Linked DNA regions of Homo sapiens: region 1 is linked to region 2. The links are contacts of gene promoters, found by promoter capture Hi-C in human tissues and cell types (Jung and others, 2019). All regions are on one chromosome and are shown on one strand. Each heading gives the region's core, a stretch centred on a gene start or on the middle of the fragment in contact. The rest is flanking DNA. Distances are from core to core; before and after follow the strand shown. Region 1 overlaps LOC107986129 (a long non-coding RNA gene). Region 2 holds the start of KBTBD12 (kelch repeat and BTB domain containing 12).

Evidence for each region. The method cuts DNA at HindIII sites, captures the fragments that hold promoters and counts their contacts. A contact is called where the count stands out against the background at its distance.
Region 1: a fragment that was not itself captured here is called in contact with the fragment with the promoter of KBTBD12 in region 2 in 1 of the 25 tissues and cell types used here (small bowel).

Annotation. Positions count from the first base shown.
Region 1 is chr3:127,870,382-127,877,474 of GRCh38, reverse strand. The region is part of intron 3 of LOC107986129 (a long non-coding RNA gene); the gene reads left to right. Among named protein-coding and RNA genes, the nearest start is that of KBTBD12, 41 kb to the left of the region's middle. The HindIII fragment of the contact is 8,894 bases long and covers 1-5,894 here.
Region 2 is chr3:127,912,358-127,919,816 of GRCh38, reverse strand. It overlaps KBTBD12 (kelch repeat and BTB domain containing 12), which reads right to left and starts at 4,585. Exons shown (of 6, transcript NM_207335.4): 1 at 4,231-4,585. It overlaps LOC107986129 (a long non-coding RNA gene), which reads left to right. Exons shown (of 5, transcript XR_001740896.2): 3 at 1,576-1,612. It overlaps LOC124909427 (a long non-coding RNA gene), which reads right to left. Exons shown (of 2, transcript XR_007096071.1): 2 at 5,151-5,471. The HindIII fragment of the contact is 11,252 bases long and covers 1-6,564 here.

The DNA of each region.
Region 1 (7,093 bases), core at 198-2,697, 39 kb after region 2:
AGGCAGAGGTTACACTGAGCTGGGATAGTGCCATTGCACTGCAACCTGGGCAACAGAGCAAGACTCTGTCTCAAAAAAAAAAAAAAAAAAAAAAAAAAAGAAAAGAAAAGAAAGGGAAGATGAGGGCAGAAGTCAATGAAATGAAAAAAAGACAAACAATAGAGAAAATCAACAGAAACAAAAGTTCTTTGAAATGACTAATATAATTGATAAATTCCCTCATAACATGATAGAGAGAGAGAGAGATTAAGGGAGAAACAAACAAATCAAATTATCAATTACCAACATCTCCAATGAAAAGGGGGGCATCACTGCAGATCTTAAAGATATTAAAAGGATAACAAGGGAATATCATGAATGTATTGGAAATGGAGAAAATCCTTTGAAAAACACAACTGCATAAATCTGACAGAAGTAAAAAAAAATCTGAGTAGTCATATTTGCTAAAGAAATTAAATCTATAATTTAAGACCTTCCCACAAAGAAAACTTAGGCACAGATAGCTTCATTGGTGAATTCAACCAATCTTTTAAAGAAAAGAAATATATACCAAGCTTGCATAACTCTTAGATAAAAGAGGAAGAGATGACACTTTCCAATTCATTTTGTGAGTCTCCTATAACTCAGATACCAAAATCTGACAAGGACATTACAAAACAAAAACAAAACAAAACAAAAAACCGACATGTCATCTACGTCTCATGAACATAGAGGCAAAATTCCTAAACAAACTATTAGCAAAATCAAATCCGGAAATATATGAAAAGGATTATATATCATAACCAAGTGGGGTTTATCTTAGAAATGCAAAGTTGATTTAATCTTTGTAAATCAATTCACTATGTTAACAGAAATAAGGAAAAAACCCAAATGATTATCTAAATAGAGAAAGCAGCTGACAAAATTAAACCCTGTTTATGGTATTCTTTCATTCAACAAATAATTATTAAATGCCTACAAGGGGTCAAAACAAAATATCTCATCCTTCTGGAGCTCACACTAGTGGAGAGAGAGAAGAGAAGCAAAAACACAGATAAGTGTACAGTGTGACATCAGCTAGTGACAAGGGCTGTGGGGAAAAGTAAACCAGGAGAAATGCAGGTCGATGGTCTCGGAAACCCTCTATAAGAAGGTGACATTTTATCAGGAACCTGAATAACATGAGTATCTTAGGCTGCCATAACAAATTACCACAAACTTAGTGGCTTAAACAACACAAATATATTATCTTACAGTTCTGAAGCTCAGAAGTCCAATGAGGGTATTACCCGGCCATGATCAAGGTGTTGGCAGGACTGCATTCCTCTCTGGGCTTCTGGGGGAGGATCCATTTACTGCCCCGCTGCGTCGTTGGCAGAATTCAATTCCTTGCATTTTAGGACTCAAGCCCCATTTCCTTACTGGCTGTCAGCTGAAGGCCATTCCCAGATTCTAGGGGCTGCCAGGTTCCCTGGCTTATGGCTCATTTCTTCCCTCTGCAAAGTTGACAATGGCGGATGGAGTCCCTCTCATGCTTTGACTCAGTCTCTCTCCAATTAGTGTCTACTTTCTGACTTAGCCAGGAAGATTTTCTGCTTTTTCTGTCTTCAAGGATTCATGGTTACATCGGGCCCACCCAATAATCCTGAATCAGCTCCCCAGCTTGCCTGCCACAAAATAGATAGGAGGGAGGGAGGCATGTGGCTCTCTGGGGAGAGGGTATTCCAGGCAGAGGGATGCAAAGTGCAGACTCAGTCAGGGCCACTGTGTCTGGGGAGGCTGAAGCACAGGGGTGAGGGTGAAGCAGCAGGAAGTGAGGCTGAGGAGCCTGTTGGGAGCCATTCAAGCACCTCTCTAGGCAGATTTGCTGGCATTTTCATTCATCTGTAGCTGTTTGTTGAGTATTACCAAAGGCCAGTGTGGAGCCAGGGGCTATGTGAAATGTGGGGTGAAGTGAGCAGGCAGTCTGGGTTTCCATGGGGTCACACTGTGGATAGGCAGTACTGGAGCAGCTTGCTTCTTACCGTTGTAAAGGTCATGCACCACACAGGAGCTGAATTGTTGGAGTCCCCACCTCAGGACTTCAGAAAGTAACTTTACTTGGAGATAAGGTCTGTACAGAGATGAGCTGACATGAGGTTCTCAGGATGGGCTCTAATCCAATGATTCATGTTCTTTGCAAAGAGGAAATTTTGACCCAGAGACAGGCACCCCAAAAAGAAAGATGATTGTGAAGACACAGGGAGAAGATGGCCATCTGCAAGCCAAGGAGAAAAGCCTGGGATGGGTTCTCCCTCACAGTCCCCAGAAGGAACCAACCCTGTGACATCTTGATCTGGGACTTGTGGCCTCCAGCATCATGAGACAATAGATTTCTGCTGGTTAAGACTCCCTGTCTGTTACAGCAGCCCAAGCCGACTCATCCATAATACACAGGGGGCCTGGCAGAGGGCAGCAGGGGCCTGGGCTCCCTCTCCAGGCCCTGCACCTGGAGGAAATGGGTGCTTTGAGAGCTTCACACAGAGGAATCATCACTCGCCAGGCTGTGCCATGCAGGGAGATGTCTACCTGGAATTGTTATAAGTTCATAAAGTGCTCTAGGTCATCTGGGGTTCATCCTGCTTTCGCCCACCCAGTATTTGTTATCCACTTGTCCCTCACTAATATGATCTTAATTTTATTCTGGGCAACAATGTACTAAAATTAAAAAAAAATAGAAACCAAACCAAACCAACAGAGACATGTATTTCCTGGCTTCCTCTGCAGATGAAGATGCCTTGTGACTAAGATCTGGTCTGTGGGCTCGAAGTAGAAGTTGGATGGGAAAGAAGTCCCTTAAACATGGGATGACTTGGCCAGGCATGGTGGCTCACACCTGTAATCCCAGCACTTTAAGAGGCCAAGGTGGGCAGATCACGAGGTCAAGAGATGGAAACCATTCTCGCCAACATGGTGAAACCCTGCCTCTACTAAAAATACAAAAATTAGCTGGGTGTGGTGGCGCACACCTGTAGTCCCAGCTACTCGGGAGGCTGAGGCAACAGAATCACTTGAACCTGGGAGGCAAAGGTTGCAGTGAGCTGAGATCATGACACTGCACTCCAGCCTGGGGGACAGAGCAAGACTCCGTCTCAGAAAAATAAAAAATACAAAGGGGATGACTCAGCCAGACTTCTTCCTCCTGTTGCCACTCCCAGTAGCTATCTTAGATGTGTAAGGGTATGGATCACACCCGAAAGACCATAGAGTTCTCAGTGGCATTGCAGAGCTGTTATGCCAGCCCTGGACTGCTTCTGGCAGGCTGGGGGAAATGCACCCTTGTCTTTTTTTTTTGAGACAAAGTCTCATTCTTCTCACCCAGGCTGGAGTGCAATGGCGCCATCTTGACTCACTGCAACCTCCACCTCTCGTGTTCAAGCGATTCTCCTGCTCCAGCCACCTGAGTAGCTGGGGTTATAGGCGCCCACCACCATGCCTGGCTAATTTTTTGTATTTTTAGTAGAGATGGGGTTTCACCATGTTGGTCAGGCTGGTCTCTAACTCCTAAACTCAGGTGATCCACCCGCCTCGGCCTCCCAAAGTGCTGGTATTACAGGCGTGAGCCACTGCCCCCTGCCCCCTTGTCTCTTCTAAGCCACTGTTTTCCTAACTGATTCAGACTACAATCCTTACTTCACAAAAGTATTCTACACAATTGTCCAGAATTCCCAAATTCATGGCTGCCTGCTAACATAGCATTTCTTCTTGAAGTGTGAGATAAATGATTTTGTAAGCTGTAGAAAAAGACCAGGGACTACCAGCCAGGTAATCTTGGGCAATTCACTTAATCTTTAGTCTCTTCTGCAAAATGGCGATAGTGATGGTTCCCATCTTTTAGAGACGTGATGTTGCAAAGGCATCTAAGGCTCTTAGAATAGGCCTGAACACCTGGGAAAAACAAGAGAAGTTATTTCTTATTATTGTTGCTCCCTAACTAACATTGAGAACAGTTTCCTTTGAGACCATTTCTCTCATCCTATTCAAGTAGTGTCTAATTCCAGGCCAAGTTCTGGATTGGAGCAGTGATGGCAGACAATCTAATCATTTATGTAAGCATCAATAAGCACACGTGCTAAGCCAAGGTCCCAGTATTGGTCAATTTTCCCTGAATTTGGGTTTTCATAATAACGCCAACTAAAGCTGATCAAGGTCAGGATGTGCAAGAGATGTTTTGTTGTCATGGTCTCCCGGGGGCAAGGCTGCTCCTGGGCTCTGAAGGCTCCATGGTAGAATGTTACCAATGCACACAGAGTCTCCTGGGCCAAGCCACGTGAATCAAACTGCCCAGAGCCTTTTGTGTAAATCAGTAATCTCCAATGGGGTCCATGCCTTCTCAGGGCCTGACACCCTAGTTTTGCTCTCAACAAACACTAAGAAACTGAATTAGAAATCCAGAGTCGTCGGTGAGCATAGAGCAAATCAATAAGAAGTGGATTATCTTGTGAGGGCAGGGATTTGTGTTCATGCCATTCAGTCTTATATCCTCAAAGCCTAGAACAGTGCCTTGCTCATAATAGGTGCTCATCCAATATTTGCTTGACAAATGAATGAATGGAGGGTCAGAAACAAATAGTGACAGCTCATCTAGGCCAGCAGCATGCAGCTTAACATGCCAGTTCCATGCCTGTGATAATACCACAGCTGGAGTTTATTTGGTAAAAACTATAATACAAAGTTCCTAACTTATGTTTGCACTAACTTCTGCAAATTTATTTGAATCACAGTATCCAAAACCACTAAGTCTGAGTATACTTAGGGTGAATATATATATAAAATGTGGCCAGGTGTGGTGGCTCATGCCTGTAATCCCAGCACTTTGGGAGGCTAAGGCAGGTGGATCACCTGAGGTCAGGAGTTCGAGACCAGTCTGACCAACATGATGAAACCCTGTCTCTACTAAAAATACAAAAATTAGCCAAACGTGGTAGTGGGCGCCTGTAATCCCAAGTACTCTGGAGGCTGAGGCAGGAGAATTGCTTGAACCCTGGAGGCGGAGGTTGCAGTGAGCTGAGATCATGTCACTGCACTCTAGCCTGAGCAACAGAGAGAGATTCTGTCTCAAAAAAAAATGTATTATGAAAAATGTATCATTAGATTCTATTGGCTGCAGTTAACAGAAAGCATAAAAGCATAATTTGGAATTTTTTTGTCGTTTTTTTTTTGAGACAGGGTCTCACTCTGTTGCCCAGGCTGGAGTGCAGTTGTGCAACTGTAGCCCACTACAGCCTTGAACTCCTGGGCTCAGGTGATCCTCCTGCTTCAGCCTCCTGAGTAGCTGGGACTACAGGTGTGAGATACCTGGCTTTTTTTTTTTTTTGGTAGAAATGGGGTCTCACTATGTTTCTCAGGTTTCCCAGGTTAAACAAAATGAGACTCCCATGTTGAGCCTGGCCAAGACAGTGATTCTTATTTATCTGCCTCTCTAAGACCTTTCTACTTGGTCTTCTTTCTGAATTGACAGACTTTTCTCAGTCCATGGGTGACAGGCAGAACTTCTGTAACTGACTCAATAAATTGTGTTATCCTTCAAGTAAGACCTGGTCTACAGGATACAACTCAAACAGGTAACAAACAATACCTACCCACATGCACCCACAGCATCCACACAACAGACATTACACATACGTCACAATGGTGGGTCCTTCTGCAAAAATCTCGTGCAAAAATATGAGCCCTTAAGGTGTATTTGCTCAAATGTTCTCTGCTGTTGTCTTAATGGTGTTTCAGTAACAAATCACCCTGAAACAGTGGTTTGAAAAGTAGCAAAAGTTGATTTTGACTGTGAGTCTGGAGTTAACAGGATCAGCTGAGCAGTCCTTGCTTAGGGTTTCTTATGAGGTTGTAACCCGTGGCTGCCTGGGGCTGGGGTTAACTTGAAAGGTTCTTTAGTCACATCTGGCACCCTGACTGGGGAGATGGAACAGCTGGGACTCCCCAGGCATCTCTCTGTGTCTCTCTCCTGCATCTCCATGCGTGGCCTCTCCAGCATGGCCGCCTCAGCACAGCCGGATTCCCGACATGGCACCTGAGGCCTTCAGCCACGGGTGACCTGCGAACCTCTGCGTCTGCTCTTCAGTATCCCATGGATCGGAAGAGGAAAGGAAACTTGTGAATGCTCAGGTTAATAGGGGGCGGCCGAGACCATGGCAGTCGAAAATCCACGTAATGAAGCTGAAAGCCTCCAGCAAGGCATCCAGTATACACGATGTGAGACATCTGCATCCTGTCGGGTTTTCATACTGACATGCTACTTTTTGAGGCATGAGCCCTGACTTCTCCTGGCAGGGCTGGAATGGGGTAAATCTGGGCCCCCTGAGAATTTGGGAGCTGACGATGACCACAGGGGGAGGCAAGATAGGAAGTGGTGTGGGCTCCAGCTGCCTGAATCTAACTCCCAGCTCAGCACTATCTCTGTGGCCTCTCAAGGAAATTTCTCAAACCCTCTTAGTCTCCTTTCTCTCCACTGAAAAATGAGGGTCATGGTAGCACCTACCTCATGGTTTTCGTGAGGAATACATTAGGTAACTCATCAAATTACTTAGAACATTTTTATCACAGAGTAATGCCCCAAAACTGTTAGTTATTATTAACATTTGTTTAACATCTTAAAATTTTTGCCATGAAGCATAGGATTTTTATTGACAAGATTTTGGCCCAATGTTCCCAACTCTCAGAAAGCGATGATGAGAGTATCCATGAGTAGACACGAATAGAGAGAAGAATAAAAATGTTCAGATTGGTTCGACACAAAGACAATTCTCCTTTAGCAATTATGAAGCTATAAAAAGAATGAGAGCAGCATTAGTCTTCTCAACACATTTCCAAAACAAGTTGGCTCAAGGATAAATTACAGTACAGACAAGTACTAAGTACCCTGGAAGCTACCTCCTTTGCACATCCCTATGAAAGTTTCAGGGCTGAATGCATTTTTTGGCAGCAAGAAAATCTGCCAAGCAGGAGTGTGAAAATTGAAATTACCAAGACTGGAACAAAGGCAAACACATTTCACCATTTTAAGGAGGCATCAAGGTTGAGCTTTGCAGCTGTTGTCCTGTATAAAAGAAAATACCAGCCC
Region 2 (7,459 bases), core at 3,336-5,835:
ATCAGATTTACATATACATATATATATATATTAGAGAGAGAGATAATAGATACATCATGAATTTTCTTTTTAATGTGTCAGGGTGTAGGTAGCCCAATTTATGAGTGATTGGAAAAAACAAAAAATTATGACCTCCTTATCTAGTCTGAATGAAGACTGCTTTGAAAACTGTGGTTATAGCCCTCCCTCCACCTCAATATCGCTGGCATCCGCCTGTATGAGAGGGAAGAGCAAATACAATTCCTAATCCTGCTTCAGTGGGAAAAGAAGTTACTGCATTCCTAAACTGGCATGTATTTTCTCCCATAAAAATGTTCAGTGTGAACTTTGGGAGGCCGAGGTGGGTGGATCACAAGGTCAAGAGTTCGAGACCAGCCTGACCAACATGGTGAAACCCCGTCTCTACTAAAAACACAAAAATTAGCTGGGCATGGGGCTTGCGCCTGTAATCCCAGCTACTCAGGAGGCTGAGGCAGGAGAATCACTTGAACCTGGGAGGCAGAGGTTGCAGTGAGCCAAGATCGTGCCACTGCACTCCTGCCTGGGTGACAGGCTGTTTAAGTTATTTCCAAATTTTTGCTATTTCCGAGACCGTGTCTCGGAAAAAAAAAAAATTCAGTATAGTGAGTAGCTTATAATCATGATAGAGTTGATCAACATCAAACCCACTGATTTTTATCGAGGAAAGACTGAAGACAAGAGAAATGACTTGGACAGGGCTAAATTCCAGTCTGTGGATAGGACAGGAGCAGGGTCTTACACTTTGTTCCTTGGCAATCCAAGGAACATCAACATTATGATGTCAGAAAATGATGTCCCAGTTTCACTGTTTAAAAAAAACCATTTTTAAGGGTGGGATCCTTTTGTACATTGGTCACTACCGTGTATAAAGTTATTACCCCACATTACAAAAATATCCCGGGCCTGTTTTCACCAACACTACCCCTCATTCAGGCATTCTGGCGCCTCCCAAACTTTCCTGCCTCGTCTCCTGACTTTCCTTCCTTATATTTTTCAATCTTTGAGTAGTACCAAACTACTACAGTTCTAACGCATATGGGCCTTTAACACGCTGTTCTCTTTTCTTTTTCTTTTTTTTTTTTTTGAGACGGAGTCTCGCTCTGTCGCCCAGGCTTGAGTGCAGTGGCGCGACCTCGGCTCACTGCAAGCTCAGCCTCCTGGGTTCACGGCATTCTCCTGCCTCAGCCTCCTGAGTAGCTGGGACTACAGGCGCCCGCCACCACCCCCAGCTAATTTTTTGTATTTGTAGTAGAGACGGGGTTTCACCGTGTTAGCCAGGATGGTCTCAATCTGCTGACCTCGTGATCTGCCCGCCTCGGCCTCCCAAAGTGCTGGGATTACAGGCGTGAGCCACCGCGCCTGGCTAACATGCTGTTCTGTCTTTACACGTGTAAATCTGTGTCAGAAATATCTCCCCCATCTACCTGAAAAAATATAACCTGGTCTTCAAAATTCAGCTCAGATATCACTTCCTCACTGACGCATCCCTTTGCTTTCTTGCCTGTGTTGTGTACACTGTGGTTGCTGCACTGCTATTGCCATTCACTTTTGCAGATGCTTGCCTCTCCTGTCAATGATGAGCACACTGCGGGTAAGGGACTTGTCTTCGTCACTTCTGTATTCTTGAAAATGTTTACTTATTTATTTTAGAGACAGGGTCTTGCCCTGTTGCCCAGGCTGGGACCTCAGCCTCCCCTGTAGCTGCACCACTACATGCACCACTATGCCTAATTTATTTATTTATTTTTTGTAGAGACAGGGTCTTACTGTGTTGCCCAGGTGCGTCTCAAACTCCTGGCCTCAAGCAATCCTCCTGACCTGGCCTCCCAAAGTGCTAGGATTATATGCTTGAGCCACCATACCTGGCCATTTCTGTATTCTTGTCTGTGATGACACTTAGCACACAGGAGTTGCTCAATACGGTTTGTTCAATTAAATTAATGCTTTGTTTAGTCCTAAATTACAAGTTAATGATAACTTTTCTCTAGGTTTTGTACATGATAATAAAAGATTATATTCAAGATTTTTTCTACATATAAAATTTATTGTGATACTATAAAATATTTATTTGGTGTTTGCCCTTTTCCTGACATACAACTCCTAAAATCCTTGGAATCTCCAAAGTGATAAATACCTTTCTGTACACTAATGAGTTGACTGAGGGCTGGCAGCCTCTAGAGCTTCAGGATAGGAGCTGGTCCCCGGAAAGAATAAGGCAGGATTAGAGCATTGGGACTTTCAGCTCCATCCCCTGACCTCCAGGGAGAGGAGCAGAAAGTTAAGTTGATCACCAATCAAGCATGCCTATGTAATGAAGCCTTCCTAAAAACCCCAAAAGGACAAGGTTTGGAGAGCTTCCAGGATAGCTGAACATGTGGAGGGTTCCCGAAGTGTGGTGCACCTGGCTGTACCCCTTCCCCCATATCTCATCCTATATATCGCTTCACCTGTATCCTTGTTAATATCCTTTATAGTAAACCGGAAAACTTAAGCGTTCTTCTGAATTCTGTGAGCTGCCCTAGCAAATTAAACCCAAAGAGGGAACCCCAACTTGAGATGGGTCAGTCAGAAGCTCTGGATGCTGGGACTAGTGTCTGAAGATAGTGGTAGCCCTGTGGGACTGAGCTCTCAGCCTGTGGGATCTGACGCTGTCTCCAGGTAGATGGTGTCAGAATTGCACTGAGTTAGAGGACACCCAAGCTGCTGTCTGCTGCAGAACTAAGTGATTGGTTGCTGATGGGGAGAAGTCTCCACATACCTCTTGGTTAGCAGAGGTTACAGACATTTTCTGTGTTCATTGTGTGAGAGCAGCAGACAAACAGTTCTGTGTTTTTTCCCACTCGCCAACGCTTAATGCTTCAAGTTGCTATCCTCTTGTTCCAGTCAAATCATTCAGAATCGTGAAGTGACTCCCTTGCTTATAGCGTGATGCACTATGACACCCAGTTTTCACTTGCACCCTCAAAATTAATTCCCAGTCATTTGCTGTCTGGGATTTGGCCCCATTCTTAAGGAACTACTGAAGCCATGTATTGGCTTCACTTACGCCTGAGATTACAAATTGGCTGCTCAGTTTTTTTTTTTTTTTTTGCTTTTTGTTTTGTTTTTGGTAAATTAGCTGTCAACATGCTAAGCTGAAATATTCCAGCATCTACTGAAAAAAATGAAAGGTATGGCAACACTGAGTCCTTAATTCCCAAGCGGCAACAATGTGCAGGACCTGAGTACCCAGCTGCCACCTCTCAGCTGGCACATCTGCTGGGCCCCATTATCCTCTTTGAGACCTGAGGGACAGTCATTATTTGTAATTCTTACGCTGTTGCTTTTCTCTTTCCTGTCCATTTACATTATCCTACAGCCATTTAAGTTTGTGACCCCCAGTTTATACGATTACGTCTCCACACCCTATTTTGTTTCAGCAACACCATCTTGCTAAAATCCTACGCTTGCAGAGGCTGGTAGGAAATGGCTGAGAACACACGCACCACCCTAAATGTACTCTGTGCTTCTCACTAGCATGGAAAAAGACCTGATTCATTTCATAATAATCCATCCCACACACCGGGCATCCAGTAACAGCCAGGCACATGGATGATAAAGACAAATAAGACCAGTTTTCTTTTCTTTTCTTTGCCGAGTTCACACTGTTTTGCATTCTCACAGTGCTTTATACTTTTCAAAGTGCTTTAATCCGCATTATAGCTCATTAGTTCCTCTTAAGAATCATTTGGGGGAAAATGTAGGGCAATTATTCTCCTGGCTTTAAAGTTAAGAGAGTTGCTCAGGGATACATTCAGGGTTTATTAAACTTAAACGAACCCTTCTAAGTGCCAGGCACTATCCTAGGTTCCGGGAAGACAACCAGGAACAGGGAAGTGCCCCTTACCTTTGTTGTGCTTACAGTCTAGCGACGGAAGGCACAATAATACATTGGTCAGGTAATTCGGAGGATGATAATACTATGCAGACTACGAGCCTGAACAACCCGACGGTGAAGGTCGGAGACGGCAGAGATGGCCTGGAGGAGCAGCTCCTGGGAGCCCCACCTGACGCCAGGCGCCGGCCCACTGCGACTCGAAGGAAGTCACTTAGAGCCGAGGCTGCAAGTGCCGGTGGCCCCGGGTCGGCGCCCAGGTTCAACCTGGCCCGGAGTTGAGGCAGGGCTTGTGACTGGGGGCCGCGTTCCCCCGGGGCGCTACCCCTACTTACGAAGGTGCTGCCTGGTTCGGGGCGCGTCCCCACTCGCTGGGCCACGACCTGGCTTGGACGCTACCGTGTGGCAGGGCGGCCAGCGGGCCTGACTGAGGCCACTGCCCAATATGGGCCTGTGCTGGCTGGGCGATATAAATAGAGGTCCCGCGCCCTGCGGAGGAGGAGGGAGGGCGCTGGCAGCGCCTCCGAGGGGACAGGTGCTGCCCTCTGCTTGGAAGTGGCCCGAGACCACGCCGCCGCTGCCCTCCAGCCACTGTGCGCCTGCGCACCTATTCCCGCGCTGGTTCCAGACGGCGACTACAGCCCCGGTGTCGCTGCACAGGGTCTCCCCGCGCGCGTCCCGTACCCTACTGAGCGTCCCCCGCGGAACGCTGTGCGCCTGCGCAGAGTGTTCCCGCGCTGGCCCGCGTGCCAGAGCGACTGAAGGCCTGCGGGGAGGGGATGGGGACAAGTGTTTAAAGGAGGTTTGGAAATCGAGCTTTGAAAAATGCCGGTGTTCCCGTTAGTCTTTTACACTTGCAAAATGACCAAAAGACCCCGTGTGTAGTCTCACTGTGACCGGGGGGTAGGGTTGCCCGGTAAAATACATGAGCCCAGTTAAAGGTAAATTTCAGATACACAACCAGTAATTTTTAGTGTTAAGTATGTCCCAAATATCGCATGGTCAATTCACGTTTAACTCGGTGTTCCGGTTGGGTTTCGTTTTGGTCTTGTATTTTTATTTGCTACATCCTGAGCCATCAGCTTGTGATTTTTATACCCTACACCTCTCTGAGAGTGGGAGGTTTCCAGGAGTCCCGAGAAAGGACTGGTTAGCCGGGAGCAGTGCAGGGATGGGAAGTCTTCCTTAGGCAAGTGTCATAAAATACGGCAGCTGTATTAGCTCAGTTAGCTTAAACCAAAGCAAAATAAAACTGTTTTCAGTGGTGGCAACATAACTTTATTATCTTACTATTATTTTAGCTCTGTAGGTCAGAAGTCCAAAATATGTCTCACTGGATTGAAATCAAGGTGTCAGCAGGACTGTGTTTGTTTCTGGGGCTTCCTGGAGTGAATCTGTCCCTGCCCTTTTGCAGCTTCTGGAAACTGTCTTCATTCTTTTGCTCCTGGCTCCTTCCTCCAGCTTCAAAGCCAGAAAATAGGGCTGAGTCTTTCTCACATGCATTGTGTCTGCAGTTGGTTCCTTTCAGTGGGCTTGTGGTCTCCATCTCGCTAACTTCAAGAATGAAGCCACGGACCTTAAATGTTAAAGAAAGCTTTAAAGGTCACATGGACCCAAACAGTGAGGAGCAGCAAAATTTATTGTGAAGAGCAAAAGAACAATGCTTCCACAACCTAGAAATGGACCTGACTGGGTTCCCTGTGTTGACTGGGTGGCCAGCTTTTATTCCCTTATTTGTCCCTGCCCATGTCCTGCTGATTGGTCCATTTTACCAAGTGCTGATTGGTCCATTTTACAGTGTGCTGATTGGTCCATTTTACAGAGTGCTGATTGGTCCATTTTACAAACCTCTAGCTAGCCACAGAGAGCTGATTGGTGTGTTTTTACAGAGTGCTGATTGGCCCATTTTAGAAACCTCTAGCTAGCCACAGAGCGCTGATTGGTGCGTTTTACAATCCTAGCTGCAGAGTGCTGATTGGTGCATTTTACAATCCTCTTGTAAGACAGAAAAGTTCTCCAAGTCCCCACCCAACCCAGAAGTGCAGCTGGCTTCACCTCTCAGCATCACTTTGACACTAACTCTTCTGCCCACCTCTTCCTTTTTTTTTATTGTGGTAAAATATACATAACATAACATTTATCATTTTAATCATTTTTAAGCATAGTCAGTGGCATTATGTTAATAATGTTGTACAACCATATCCAGTATCCATTTCCAGAATTTTTTCATCCTCTCAAAAGAAACTTGGTACTCCTTAAACAATAACTTATTTCTCCCTCCCCTTTAGCACCTGGTAACCACTATTCTACTTTTTGCCTCTACGAATTTGCCTATTCTAGGTGCCTTATATGAGCAAAATCATACAGAATTAGTCCTTTTTTGGGGGAGGGGGATGGGGACGGAGTCTTGCTCTGTCGCCCAGGCTGGTGTTCAGTGGTGCGATCTCAGCTCACTACAACCTCTGCCTCCCCCGTTCAAGTGATTCACCTACCTCAGCCTCCCAAGTAGCTGGGATTACAGTCGTGCTCCACCACGCCCAGCTAATTTTTGTATTTTTAGCAGAGACGAGGTTTCACCATGTTGCTCAGGCTGGTCTGAAACTCCTGACCTCAGGTGATCCACTCGCCTCAGCTTCCCAAAGTGCTGGGATTACAGGAGTAACCCACCGCTCCTGGCCAGAATTTCTCCTTTTGTAACTGGCTTATTTAACTGAGTATAATGTCCTTTCTTTTCTTAAGGCTGAATAATATTTTTCTGTGTATATGTGTGCCTTTATATACCACATTGAAAACAAAACAGATTTTATATGGTAAGTAAAGTCCCTTTAAACATTTTAGAAGGTATTCATGTCAATGAAGAATGCTTGCATGCATTCGTATTTACACTTACTTTTTTTTTTTTTTTCCTTTTTTAGAGACAGGGTCTCACTTTGTCATCTAGGCTTGAGTGCAGTGGTGCAATCATAGCTCACTTCAGCCTCGAACTCCTGGGCTTAAGTGAACCTCCCACTTCAGTCTCCCAAATAGCTGGGATTACAGGTGTGTGCCACCATGCCTGGCTAAATTTTAATTTTTTTTAGAGAGAGATAGGATCTCGCTATGTTGCCCAGGATTGTCTCAAACTCCTGGGGTGAAGCCATCCTCCCACCTCAGCCTGTCGAGCATACACATACATACTTACAGTTATTTGGGGAAATTCCTGTATCCTTTCCCCACAAACATCCCTTGATCCAGTTAGTCCTAGTTAGATCCTTCTGCGACTATTTTCTTTCCTGCTTCTGGTTTTGTTTATGAGATGTTTGTGTGAACCTAATGAATCTTTCTCAGCTTGCTTTGAAGGCGCTGTTCAATTTCCTATTGGGCTACTTTATTTTACCTTTTTCATTTGTTTCAGGAAGAAGTGGAATATGCTATGAAGAGTCAGGGCTTGGGGTCTGGAGGCTAATTTAGATGCTGGGCCATATCACTGAGTGACTATAGTTGATTCTCAAAACATCCATGTGCCAAATGATTAATGAAGTATTAATATTTATCAAATCTACTGATTTATCAATAACTTGATTT